Linked DNA regions of Homo sapiens: all the other regions are linked to region 1. The links are contacts of gene promoters, found by promoter capture Hi-C in blood cells and fetal thymus (Javierre and others, 2016). All regions are on one chromosome and are shown on one strand. Each heading gives the region's core, a stretch centred on a gene start or on the middle of the fragment in contact. The rest is flanking DNA. Distances are from core to core; before and after follow the strand shown.

Region 1 (4,520 bases), core at 1,369-3,868:
TCTGGAGGGCACTGGTGTGTTGAATCAGACACCCCCTATCTCTCCCTCTTGACCCTCCCTCCATATAGCCCAACATTTACCATGCCCGTGAATCACCTGGGGGTCTTGTTCCAATACAGATTCTGACTCAGTAGTCTTGGGGGAGGCTCCAGATTCTGTCATTCTTACGAGCTCCAGGTGATGCTACTGTAGCTGGTCCAGGGACAACACTTTGAGTCAAGGTCATCCTGATGGCCTTGACTACTCCTCAACCCCTTCTTTGGAACCCAAACAAGAAGAATGGCTCCCATGAATTCCACTGGGGTCCTTGATCTACAGCCACTGTACCAAAAACTGTAGGCATTCCTGAACTAACATCATATATTTTGTCCATCTCTTTTCTTAACTATTCCCTCCTCCCACTAGGCAATGTTATAGGAGGATTGGGGCCTACTGAGTTAGAAACAAGCTTAGAGAGCAGGTATTTTGCCCCATTCATTACAAAACTATGGCACTGAGGCCAAGTTGCAAAGGATTTGTCAAGTTCACAGGTGATCGTGGTAAAGGCAAAACTAGATCTAAATCAGGACATGAACGCATCCATTAAGGATTCTGTCAAAATGATTGCTTCCTGTAGCTTTCTGTGTGAAACATCCATTTGCTTATCCTCAGGGAAATCAGACTAACAAAGACTTGGAAAGGAACATAAAATTCTAAAGCTAGGCTTATGGCCTTTATAACCCTTAGATGGGGCAGATAACATGCCACGGAGGCTCAGAGACAGCTCTGAGACTATGCAATAGCTACTGTTTCCCCTCTTGTGGAATGTTCACTTAAAAAAGCTCAAGGGCTCTATAAGTTGCCCAATGAACTCCACAGACATCCTTAATTCATTTTCATTTATTGGAACCCTCTCTCAAATAATTTTCTAAATCTCACGCAATAATGATGTATATTCTTGCTCAATATTAAGAAGCCCTCATGCAAAACTGAAGAAATAAATTGTTCTTACAAAAGAAGGAAAAAGGAATTATATTCTCAGAACATTCTGCTTACCCAGACACACAGATCTGATTCTTGCTCCATTGTTTGTGGCATTCTGGATCCTAGGGCCATTGATGAGGCTGGGTCAGTGGCCACACTGGCTCCTGGGTACCCCTTCCCTGGCCACAAAAGTCCATCCCAGCAGCACTATTTAAACTGGACTTATTTCTCACTTCACAGCTCTGGCCTGGGCTGAGACCTCCCCAACAGAGCTTATTAGCGAGCTTGTCATCTTGCTCTGTGGCTATCTAGGTCTGGAGTCAAGAGCCATTCACAGGAAAATCAGCATGAAACCTTTAAGTTTGCATATTAAATATTAACACCACTAAGGGCTACAGTGGAAAAGAGGTTTGCTGAGCTCAAGGGCCCTCACTCCACCCCCAACTTCCCTTGGCTTTTCTCTTCTATGTTGTGTTCCTGGTAAATCCCATTATGTCTCGACTACCTTAGGCCCTCTCAGCCCCTTCTTGGGAATTAGGCTCTCTGGATAGGCAAAGAGGCAGATACCCAGCTGCCAGGTGAATCAGATGTCCTCATCAGATCTCTTAATTTCCACTTTGGTGATATTTCAAAGGATCACAAATTATGTTCTTAGTGCCTGGTCAGAGAACTGGGAAAGAGCTGGAAGATGAGACACCAAACTCCATCCCATGGTGATGTTTGAACCAGGCTGGAGCTGGTTTCACATGTTTTTCATTGTGCATGACTTTCTTAATTGCCTTAGTGGGAATGCGTTACTGCAAAATAAAGTGAAATTGTTTTCCTTATTGCTTGTAATTTACAGAGGGGTGGTTTTGATCATATAAACCAGGCACTTTTCAAATCCATTGATCTTAGGGTGGAAGGAGGGATTTCTTTTTAAGTATTCATTTCGAACTATGCTTTCACTAGTAAACTCAAAGCCCAAGGGCAAAAACCCATGATTCTCCATTTTGTAATAGCTATTAGATGTCCACAGCACATCAGACCTGTGGAAAACGCATGCTTTGTGTATGGAAGAGGGAGAGGGAGCGTCAGGAGTTGTCCTTTGCCAAAAAACGTACTCTGACACTCAAAGGCACAGGCTGGTGGAGATCCAGGGAACCCGGGAAAGCCCAGGCCTAACTCAGGCCCGCGCGGGTCTCTTCTGATCCCATAAGATGAGGAGTGGGTCCTGGCTCTGGGCATCCTGGTGTCGACTGTGAGTTCCCAGCAGAGGCCCAGAGTCCCGGTCCGGCAGCCGAGGGAAGCGGGGGGGTCTTCCAGAAGAAGAAAGGGCCAAGGTCACCCCGGTGCCTCTCCAGCAGCAGCAGAGGGCGGCGGTCGGTGTCGCTGCTGGCCGGGGCCTCGAGGAAGGCGCGGGCCAGCTGGGGCCGGGTCTGCGTTCCCAGGAGCTGCCACCGTTCCAGGGAGCAAGTCAGGCCGGGACGTAGCGCCTGCGCGGGACCCTCACTTGCCACCAAGACCCCCACAAACCCCGCCCCATCCTGCCTTACGCCCCGCCCCAAGGTCGTTCTCCCGACCCGGGGTCCCGCCCCAAGGCCGTCCTCCCGCCCCGCCGCTTGGTGGCGGCCGCATGCTGCCCGGATATAAAGGGTCGGCCCCACATCCCAGGGACCAGCGAGCGGCCTTGAGAGGCTCTGGCTCTTGCTTCTTAGGCGGCCCGAGGACGCCATGGCCGAGTGCCCGACACTCGGGGAGGCAGTCACCGACCACCCGGACCGCCTGTGGGCCTGGGAGAAGTTCGTGTATTTGGACGAGAAGCAGCACGCCTGGCTGCCCTTAACCATCGAGGTACAGCCAGCTTTGGAGCGGATGGCGAGGCAGCAGGGGCAGCCCCTGGGAGCTTGGGATGCCCTAGGAAGGGCGAGGACTCAAGGAGCACTCACTATGGGGCAGGGAGGATCCCCACAGATGAAGCCACTTTGAGCCGGGCTCTGGAGGATGAATAGGAGTTCTCCAGGCAGGGAAGAAGGGTGGGAAAACCGCAAAGGAATGTCGGTCAAAGGGGTGGACCCAGTGCCTGTGGAGTGTGACTATAATGTTGACTACAGCAGGCATTTTCTGGGCTTCGGGGTCCTAATCCTTAAAAATGGGTATCTCTAAGTGACTCATCCATATGGCCGATTATCGGAATCATCTCAGGTGGGTCCCAGAAATCTGTATTTTTAAAAAGAACCCTCAACAGTTTAGGGTCAACCAGGCATAGCAAACACTGGCCTAGAGTGTGAAGTATTTTCCACTACCTCTGGGCTTTATTTAGAAAACAAATTTAACAAGTGATGTCGTAGTATAAGCGCCGGTATTGAATCAATATTGACTTTTTTAATGTGTGATGCCTTAAGATGGGTCCTTAATCCATGTTAAGTTTTTGTTAAAGAAATAGATAAGTCTTTTACAAGTATTTGGATTTACTCAATGAAAAAGAGTCAAAAAATGTTCAAACTCTCTCCAAACATACACTGAAGAAAGCATAAAAATTAAAAAATATATTAGAACACGTATGTCCAGTAGCAATCAAAAATTATTGAGTGTTGACTGTGTCTCTACAGATGGGAAACTGAGGCACAAAAATGTACATTTGTCCGAGGTAAGATTGCTAGTAGGTAATGGGGTTGGAATTCTAGGCTCTTAACCACCACAAAATCTGCATTTTTATTGGCATTTCAATTTTTTAAATATGTTTTTACTTTAAAAATCAAGTTAAATACTTACTTTTTTAAAATCAAAATTTGAAGAAATAATTTGAAGATTCAGTGGATTTCTTTTTTTAAATCTCTGAGAAATCTCTTCTTCAACGTGACACCAAAACCACGAACCAGACAGTTTTTCATAAAATCATGATACATGCTCCACAAAAAATAACCCACTAGCAAACTGTGGGACAGATTTTGCCTCACATCATTGAAAAGGCCAGTATTCTTTTTCTCTCTTTCTTTCTTTGTTGTTTTTTTTTTTTCCTGTAGATACAGGGTCTCGCTCTGTGACCCAGGCTGGTCTTAAACTCCTGGCCTCAAGCGATCCTCCTGCCTCTGCCTTCCAAAGCACTGGAATTACAAGTGTGAGCCGCTGCAACCCGCCAGAAAAAAGTGTGCCTTTCATGGCCCTGTCTGGGTGGCTAGACACGTGTGTGTGCTGGTGGTCCTGGCCCAGCCAGAGTCCCTGAGAGGAGCATGCATGGCCTAAGGAAGTGAGCTTCAGGGAACAGTGATGACCATCATTTCACACTCGGACCCCTGCCCAGATGGGTGGATGGCTGGCAGGAGGGATTCCGGTTTTCTGCGCCTGGAGAAGCCCTGGCAAGCGGAACCTGAAAGTATGCCCTGTCCTTTTCTTCTCCTCAGATAAAGGATAGGTTACAGTTACGGGTGCTCTTGCGTCGGGAAGACGTCGTCCTGGGGAGGCCTATGACCCCCACCCAGATAGGCCCAAGCCTGCTGCCTATCATGTGGCAGCTCTACCCTGATGGACGATACCGATCCTCAGACTCCAGTTTCTGGCGCTTAGTGTACCACATC
Region 2 (4,520 bases), core at 1,297-3,796, 300 kb before region 1:
TCTGAGTTTACACGAGATCTGGTCATTTTAAAGTATGTGGCACCTCCTGCTGCCCACTCTTTCTCTCTCCTTTGCTCTGGTTTTCACCGTGTGATATGCCTCCTTCCCGTTTGCCTTCTGTCATGATTGTAAGCTTCCTGAGGCCTCCCTGGAAGCTGAGGAGATGCCAGCACCATTCTTCTTGTAAAATATGTAGAACCATGAGCCAAGTAAATCTCTTTTCTTTATAAATTATCTAGGCTCAGGTATTTCTTTATAGCAATGCAAGAATGGCCTAACACGGGAAATTGGTGCCAAGGAGTGGGGCATTGATATAAAAATATCTGAAAATGTGGAAGCAGCTTTGGAACTGGTTAACAGGCAGAGGTTGGAAGTGTTTGGAGGGCTCAGGAAAAGAAAGGAAGATGAGGAAACATTTGGAATTTCTCAGAAGCTGGTTCAGTGATTGTGACCAAAATGCTGACAGTGATATGGACAGTGAAGTCCAGCAGCTGAGGTGGAAATGAGGAACTTATTGGGAACTGGAGCAAAGGTCATGTGTGTTATGCAAAGAGCTTGGCTGCATTTTGTTCATGCCTTAGGGATCTGTTGAAAGTTAGAACTAAAGAGTGACAACCTAGAGGAGCTGGTGGAGGAGATTTCTAAACAGCAGTGCTCAAGATATAGCCTGGCTGCTTCTAACAGCCTATGTTCAGATGTGCAAAGAAAGAAATGACTTAAAAGTTGGAATTTTGGAACAGTTGGAAACAGGAAGCAGAGGATAAAAGTTTGGAAAATTTTCAGCCTAGCCATGTGGCAAAGAAAGAAAAAGCTTTTTCAGTAGAGGAATTCAAACAGACTGTGGATCAATCATGTGTTAGAGATATTTGCATAATTGAAAGGGAGCCAAGTGCTAATATCCAAGACAATGAGGAAAAGGCCTCAAAGACATTTTAGAGATCTAAGAGGCAGCCCCTCCCATCACAGGCCTTGAGGCCTAGAAGGACTAAATGGTTTTAAGGGCCAGGCCCAGGGCCTCTATGCCCTGTGCAGTCTTGTGACACTCCTCCCCACATCTGGACTGCTCCAGCTCCAGCCTTGGCTCAAAGGGACCCAGATACAGCTCAGCCTGCTGCCTTGGCATCCTCTATGTCGTGTTTAGCCTTCAGGTGTGCAGAGTGCAAGAGTGAAGAATACTTGGCAGCTTCTGCCTAGATTTCAGAGGCTGTATGAGAAAGCCTGCATACCCAGGCAGAAGTCTGCTGCAGGGGTGGAGCCCCCAGAGAGACCTCTGCTAGGGCATTGCCAAGGGGAAATGTGGGGTTGGAGTCCCCACACAGAGTCCCCAATGGGGTACCACCCAGTGGAGCTGTGGGAAGGGTGCCGCAGCTCTCCAGAAGTGGAAATGGTAGAACCACCAGTAACTTGCAATCTCAGCATGGAAAAGCAGCAGGTACAGAGCTTCCTAAGAGCCCACTCCTTGCTCCAGTGTGCCTGGATGCAGGATATGGAGTCAAAGGAGATTATTCTGGAGCTTTAAGATTTAATGACTGCCCTGTTGGGTTTTGAACTTGCGTGGGGCCTGTAGCCCCTTTCTTTGGCTGATTTCTCCCTTTTGGAATGAGAATGTTTACCAAATGCCTATACCCCCATTATATCTTGGGAGGAAATAACTTGTTTTGATTTTACAGGCTCATAGGTGGAAGGGACTTGCCTTGTCTCAGATGAGACTTTGGACTTTTGAGTTTACGCCAGAATGAGTTAGGACTTTGGGGGATTATTGGGAAGGTATAATTGTGTTGTTCAATGTGAGAAGGACATGAGATTTTATGGGCCAGGGATAGAATGATAGTTTGAGTATCCATCCTCACTGAAATCTCATATTGAAATGTAATCCCCAATGTTGGAGGTGGGGCCTTGTGGGAAATATTTGGATAATGGGGGCAGATCCTTCATGAATGGCTTCAGCCATCCCTTTGATGATAAGTGAGCTCTTGCTCTGAGTTCACATGAGATCTGGTCGTTTAAAAGTGTGTGGCACCTCCCCCTCTCCATTCTCTCTTTCTTGCTGTTTCTTTCACCATGTGACATGCCTGATTACCCTTTGCCTTCTGCCATGATTGTAAGTTTCCGGAAGCCTCCCTAGAAGCTGAGCAGATGCCAGCACTATGCTTTCTGTAAAGCCTGCAGAACCGTGAACCAATTAAACCTCTTATCTTTATAAATTACCCAGTCTCAGGTATTTCTTTATAGCAATGCAAGAATGGCCTCATACAGTGAGAAAATGCCAAAGTATAAGTGTCTGTACCATTTGCATTCCCAACAGCAAGGTATGAGAGTTCCAGTTGCACCTCATCCTTACCTAAGCTTCCTGTCATCAGGTTTGCTTTTTATAAAGTTATGTTAATTGGTATGTAGCTTTATCTCATTTTGGTCCAAAATTCTATTTTCCTCATGACTAAGGACATTGAGCATCTTTTCATATACTTATTTGTTATCTGTATATCTTCTTTGATAAAAGTTCCCATTTAAATATCTTGTCTATTTTAAAAGTTGTTTGTTTATTGAGTTTTAAAAGTTCTTTATACATTAGAAACAAGTCTTTTACCTGACATGTAATGTCAAACATTTCCTCCCAGTCTGTGGCTGGTCTTTCCATTTTTTAAAGTGTCTTTCAAAGGGCAGAAGTTCTTAATTTTGATTAGGCCCTATTTATCATATTTTCTTTTATGGGTCATGTTTTTGGTGTTGTATTTAAGAAAGCTTTACCTAATTAAGGCTATAAAGATTTTCTCCTATTTTTTTTTCCCAAAAGTATTGTGGTTTTAGGCTTTACATTTAGGCCTGAGATCTATTTTGAGTTAATATTTCTATAGTGGGTAATGCATGCCTTGAGGCATATCCATTTATTTGCCTAGGGATATTCAATTGTCCAAGAACAATTTGTTGAGAAAAACTATCATTTCTCCATTAAGTTGCCTTTGGGACTTTGTCAAAAACCAAATGACCACATGTGTATTGGTCTATTCTAGTCTGTTCCACTAATCTAGATGTTAATCCTTTTCTAATAGCAGATTCTCTTGACTGCCAGCTTTATAGTAAGCCTGAAAATCTGGTAGTGTGAGTCTTCCAATTTTGCTACTTTTCTTACAATTTGTTTTGCCATTCTAGTTATTTTTTAAAATTTCCATAAAAATTTTAGAATTACTTTGCCAATTTCTACAAAAAAGTCCTGCCAGGATTTTTAAATTTATTTTTATTTTTATTTTTTGAGACAGGATCTCATTCTCTCACCCAGGCTGGAGAGCAGTGGTATGATCATGGCTCACTGCAGCCTCGACTTCCCAGGCTCAGGTGATCCTTCCACCTCAGCCTCCTGAGTAGCTGGTACTACAGGTGAACACAATTACACCCAGCTAATTTTTGTATTTTTTGTAGACATGGGGTTTCACCGTGTTGCCCAGGCTGGTCTCAAACTCCTGAGCTCAAGCAATCCTCCTGCCTCAGCCTCCCAAAGTGCTGGGATTAAAGGCATGTGCCACCACTCCTGGCCTGAGATTTTGATTGGAATCGCACTAAATCTATATATCAGTTTGGTGATAATTGCCATCTTAATAATAGTGAATCTTCCATTCATGAACAATATATGCCTCTTCATTTATTTAGGCCTTCTTTCATTGCTTTCATTAGTGTTTTGCAGCTATCAGAGTATAGATATTGCACATATTTTATAATATTTATGCCCAAGTATTTTATATTTTTGGTAGTATTTAAAATGTACTGTTATTTTTATTTCAAGTTCTAATTTTTCATTGGTAGTATAAAGAAATATGATTTTTTCTTTACAATTTTGGCAATCCCTTTCTCTGTTTTTTTTTTTTAATTTGATTTTATTTTAAGTTTTGGGATACATGAGCAGAACATGCAGGTTTGTTATGTAGTTAAACGTGCGGTGGTGGTTTGCCGCACAGATCAACCCATCATCTAGGTATTAAGCTCACATGCATTAGCTATTTACCCTGATGCTCTCCCTTCCCCTGCCCTCCGCAACAGGTCCCACAGGGAGGGGAACAACAGGTCCCAGTGTGTGTTGTTACCCTCCCTGTGTCCATATGTTCTCATTGTTCAGCTCCCACTTATGAGTGAGAACATGCAGTGTTTGGTTTTCTGTTCCTGTGTCAGTTTACTGAGGATGATGGTTTCCACCTCCATCCATGTCTCTGCAAAGGACATGATCTCATTCCTTTTTATGGCTGCATAATATTCCATGGTGTATATGTATCACATTTTCTTTGTCCAGTCTATCATTGATGGGCATTTGGGTTGGTTCCATGTCTTTACTATTGTGAATACTGCTGCAATGAACATACATGTGCACGTGTCTTTATAATAGAATGATATATATTCCTGTGGGTATATACACAGTAATGAAATTGGTGGCTCAAATGGTATTTCTGATTATAGATCCTTGAGGAATTGCCACACTGTCTTCCACAATGGTTGAACTAATTTACATTCCCACCAATAGTGTAAATCATTCC
Region 3 (4,520 bases), core at 1,123-3,622, 270 kb before region 1:
CACAGTTGAGAAGGGAAGGGAAGACAGAGGGTGTATTAGTCAAGACTTTTCAGAGAAACAGAACCAATAAGATATATAGGTGTGTGTGTGTGTGTGTGTGTATATATATATATATATATATATATATATATATATATATATACACACACACAGAAAGAAAGAGCAAGAGAGAGATCTAAAAGGAGATTTATTATGGCAATTGGCTTATGTGATTTTGGAGTCTGAGAAGTTCCATGATTTGCCATCTGCAAGCTGGAGACCGAGGAAAGCTGGTGATGTAATTCAATCTGAGTCCAAAGGCCTGAGAACAGAGGGGCTGCTGGTGTAAGTCCTGGAGTCTGAGGGCCCAAGAACAAGGAGTCAATGTCAAAGGTCAGGAAAAGATGGAAGTTCCAGCTGAAGAAGAAAGAGAATTTGCCCCTCTTCTGTCATTTTTTTCTATCTGGGCCCTCAACAGATTGGATGTCACCCACCCACATTCTCTACTCAGTCCATTCATTCAAATGCTAATCTCTTCTGGAAACACCCTCACAGATGCACCCAGAAATCATGTTTTACCAGCTATCTGGGCATCTCTTAGCTCAGTCAAGTTGACACATGGAATTAATTATCACAGAAGGGAAATGTCTACAGGGCCTTCCTGTGATGAGTTTGGGGTACTGGAGGCACCACAGGTTCACCAAGGAGGGGGTGGTCTAGTCAGCCCAGGAGCACAGAGAGAGCCCAATTTGAGAAAATGAACGGGTGAGTTTGGGGTATGGAGAAGGTGGTGGGGAGAGAGGATGTTCCAGACAGAAGAAGGAGTGCAGACAAAGCATGAAGGAATGAAACAACCTAGTCCCATGGGGGACCTCAAACCTGAATATAACTTAATGTAGGATTGGGGAGTATAGAGGAAAGTCCAGTGAGTGTGTCCTCTAGCATAATACTATTTATAAATGCAGTTGTATATTATTTATATATAAATACATAGTATTTCAGTAAATTAAAGAATATAAAATAATGTAAGTTCCCCCCAAACCTAGCCCACACAGTTTACTGAAGGGCTAGAGTGAGAAAGAGGAGAGAGAGCTATCAGTGAGTCTTCCAGCTCCTCCCTCACGCTCAGAAATAAAAGCAGAAAAAATAAGTGCAATCAAACTTGTAGACTGGTTCAGAAGAGGTTCTAGAAGTCCAGGGACCAGGAGCATCAGAATTTTATTAAAATTTGGAAACTTCATAACTACCTAAACATGCTATTTTGTTATTCAATATCTGTTCCTACTCAGTGACTTGAAGAAAAGTAGCACATAGTCAGAATATTGGTCAGGACAGGCTAGGGTCTGCTGCAGAAACTAACTAACCCAGGAATCTCTATGACTTCATGGAATAAAGGTTTATGTTTTTCCTTGTGTAAAGTTCAATGTGCTCAGGGGGGTCTCTTCTACTTTTTAGTATGTCACTTGATATATACTGCCTCTGCAAGAGAGAAAGACACATGCCACTTGCATTCACAGGCCATAATTATTCACAGTCTCAATCCAGCTGCAAGGGAGGCTGAGAAGTGCAAAGAAGCACATGGAATACTTGGTGTATGCCATCTCTGCTGAGCGTGCCCTTCTCATCACTGTCTTCTCATTTCTTTCTGCCCCCACATAGAGCTCACTCAACCCCTCCTCTAAAATCTCCCCCAGTCACCACATCCAGTTCAAACTCAGATCTCTGGGTGATGTCTGGCCTTCTTCCCAGCAAGTTCGCATGTGGCTCCTTTTGGTCCAAGGATACCAAAACTGGAAAAAAAAAAAAAGTCACCTGCCAACCCTGCTTCCAATATATAATGATGAAACTGAGATAATATGGCCTCAATAGGCACCTCCCACTTGGAAAAGGGAAGGATGGGAAGTACATAGAGTCACTGTCCATAGCAATTCTGAAATCCCACTGGGCAGACGTCATGAAAGCCCATATCCTCGGCATCCATGATTAGGCTCTAGTTTTGCTCTCTGAGAGATGCTGCTTTGTTCACTTTTCTCCATGAGCCTGGTTCTACCCATGAGGTTATTTCTTTTTTTGTAAGCTTCCTTGGTAGCACATGAATCAGGCATTGAGAAATAAGCCCTCCTTATGGACTGCTGTTCTAAAAGTTTGGTACAAGCCTTAAGGCTTGAAGACTGAAGGTCTTATTCAGTCTGTCTGTATGGTTCTTTGGTAACATGACCCTCAAAAATGTAGCACAAGTATAAACTTCATTTTATTGCACTTCACTTTTTTGCACTTCACAGATATTCCATCTATTACAAATTAAAGGGTTATAGCAACTCTGTGTTCAGCAAGTCTTATTTTTCTAACAGCATGTGCTCACTTTGTGTCTCTGTTTCACATTTTGGTAATCTCAAAATACTTCAGACTTTTTCATTATTATATCTGTTATGGTGATCTGTGATCAATGATCTCTGATGTCACTACTGCAATTGTCTTGGGGTGCCATAAACAGTGAACTTAGTTGATAAATGCATGTGTTCTGACTGCTTCATTGATTAGCTGATCTATCATCTCTCCCCCTCTCCTCAAGCCTCCCTATTTCCTGAGACATAACAATATTGCCATTAGGCCAGTTAATAACCCTACAATGGGCCTTGAAGCATTCAGGTGAAAAGAAAAGTCACACGTCTGTCACTTTAAATTAAAAGCTAGAAATGATTAAGCTTAGTGAGGAAGGCATGTCAAAAAAAGTGAGACAGACCAAAAGCTAGGCCTCTTGGGCCAGTTAGCCAAGTTGTGAATGTAAAGGAAAAATTCTTGAAGGAAATTAAAAGTGCTGCTCCAGTAAACACACAAAAGATAAGAAGGCTAAGCAGCCTTATTGCTGATATGGAGAAAGTTTTAGTGATAAGAATAGAAGATCAAGTCAGCCACATTTTCTTAAGCCAAAGCCTAACCCAGAACAAGGCCCCAACTCTCTTCAGTTCTGTGAAGGTTGAGAGAAGTGAAGAAGCTGCAGAAGAAAAGCTGGAAGCTAGCAAAGGTTGGTTCATGAGGTTTAAGGAAAGAAGCTGTCTCCATAACATGTAAGAGCAAGGGAAAGCAGCAAGTGCTGATGTAGAAGTTGCAGCAAGTTATCCAGAAGACCACTGATGAAGGTGGCTTCAGTGTAGATGAAACAGCCTTCTACTAGAAGAAAAGGCCATCTAGGACTTCCATAGCTGAAGAGGAGAAATTAATGAAATTGATTACTGAATAAATTACTGAGTATCTTAAGTCCCCTGTTGAGACTTACTGCTCATAAGAAAAGATTCCTTTCAAAATATTACTGCTCATTGACAACGAGCCTAGTCACCCAAGAGCTCTGATGGAGCTGTACAAGGAGACGAATATTGTTTCGATGCTTGCTAGCACAACATCCATTCTGCAGCCCAAGGATCAAGAGGTAATTTTGACTTTCAAGTCTTATTATTTAAGAAATACATTTTATAAGGCTATAGCTGCCATAGATAGTGAATCCTCTGATGGATCTGGACAAAGTAAATTGAATACTTTCTGGAAAACACTCACCATTCTAAATGTCATTAAGAACATTCCTTATCCATAGGAGGAAGTCAAAATATCAATATGAACAGGAATTTGAAAGACATTGATTTCAACCCTCATGAATGACTTCCAGGGGTTCAAGACTTTGCAGAGGAAGTAACTACTGATGTAGTGGAAACAGCAAGAGAACTAGAATTAGAAGGGAAACTTGAAGATATCAGTGAATTGCTAAAATCTCTTGAGATGAAGTCAACTCCCAGTGAAGATGCTTTGAATATTATTGAAATGACAGCAAAGGATTTAGAATATTACATACAATGAGTTGATAAAGCAGTGATAGGGTTTGAGAGGACTGACTTCAATTTTGAAAGAAGTTCTACTGTGGGTAAAATGCTATCTAAGAGCATACAATACTACAGAGAATATTTTGTGAAGAAAAGAGTTAATCGATATGGGAAACTTCATGTTTGTCTATTTTAATAAATTGTCACAGCCACACCAACCATCAGCAACCGTCACCCTGATCAGTCAGCAGCTTTCAGCATCAAGGCAAGACCCTACACCAATGAAAAGATTACAATTCATTGAAGGCTTAGATGATTTGTTAGCAGTTTTCAGCAATAAAGTATTTTAAAATTATGGTATGTACATTTTTAGACATAATGCTATTGCACACCTAATAGCTTACAGCATGTGTAAACATAACTTTATATGCACTGGGAAACCAAAATATTCATGTATCTCACTTGATTTTGGTTTTCACTTTATCGCGGTGGTCTGAAATCAAACCCACAGTATCTTTGAGGTATGCTATACACTCGTGATTTATTTGCTCCCAGCCAAATCCATGCATCAGTAACTGCACCCAAAAAACTATTTTAAAACTGGTTCTCAATCTGCATTATTTCTTCACTCCCTTGCCCTGTGCCCCACCCAACTCAATGGACGCGCCACTGAAGTCATCTGGAGTAGTAGGTAGGAAAATCCTGCCCTTACTCTGATCTTTGCCATGA

The links. The method cuts DNA at HindIII sites, captures the fragments that hold promoters and counts their contacts. A CHiCAGO score of 5 or more calls a contact.
Region 2: a fragment that was not itself captured here is called in contact with the fragment with the promoter of TCL1A in region 1 in 1 of 17 cell types (naive B cells); the score reaches 7.8 in naive B cells.
Region 3: a fragment that was not itself captured here is called in contact with the fragment with the promoter of TCL1A in region 1 in 2 of 17 cell types (naive B cells and total B cells); the score reaches 7.0 in naive B cells.

Annotation. Positions count from the first base shown.
Region 1 is chr14:95,712,223-95,716,742 of GRCh38, reverse strand. TCL1A (TCL1 family AKT coactivator A) reads left to right here and starts at 2,618. Exons shown (of 4, transcript NM_021966.3): 1 at 2,618-2,796; 2 at 4,347-4,520. The coding sequence starts at 2,677. It overlaps LOC107984703 (a long non-coding RNA gene), which reads right to left and starts at 1,260. Exons shown (of 3, transcript NR_148060.1): 1 at 1,036-1,260. RefSeq lists a silencer at 2,364-2,603 and enhancers at 2,834-2,883, 3,998-4,217, 4,258-4,417, 4,458-4,520. The HindIII fragment of the contact is 7,267 bases long and covers 451-4,520 here.
Region 2 is chr14:96,007,799-96,012,318 of GRCh38, reverse strand. No RefSeq gene overlaps it. Among named protein-coding and RNA genes, the nearest start is that of C14orf132, 29 kb to the left of the region's middle. The HindIII fragment of the contact is 396 bases long and covers 2,349-2,744 here.
Region 3 is chr14:95,984,716-95,989,235 of GRCh38, reverse strand. No RefSeq gene overlaps it. Among named protein-coding and RNA genes, the nearest start is that of C14orf132, 52 kb to the left of the region's middle. The HindIII fragment of the contact is 628 bases long and covers 2,059-2,686 here.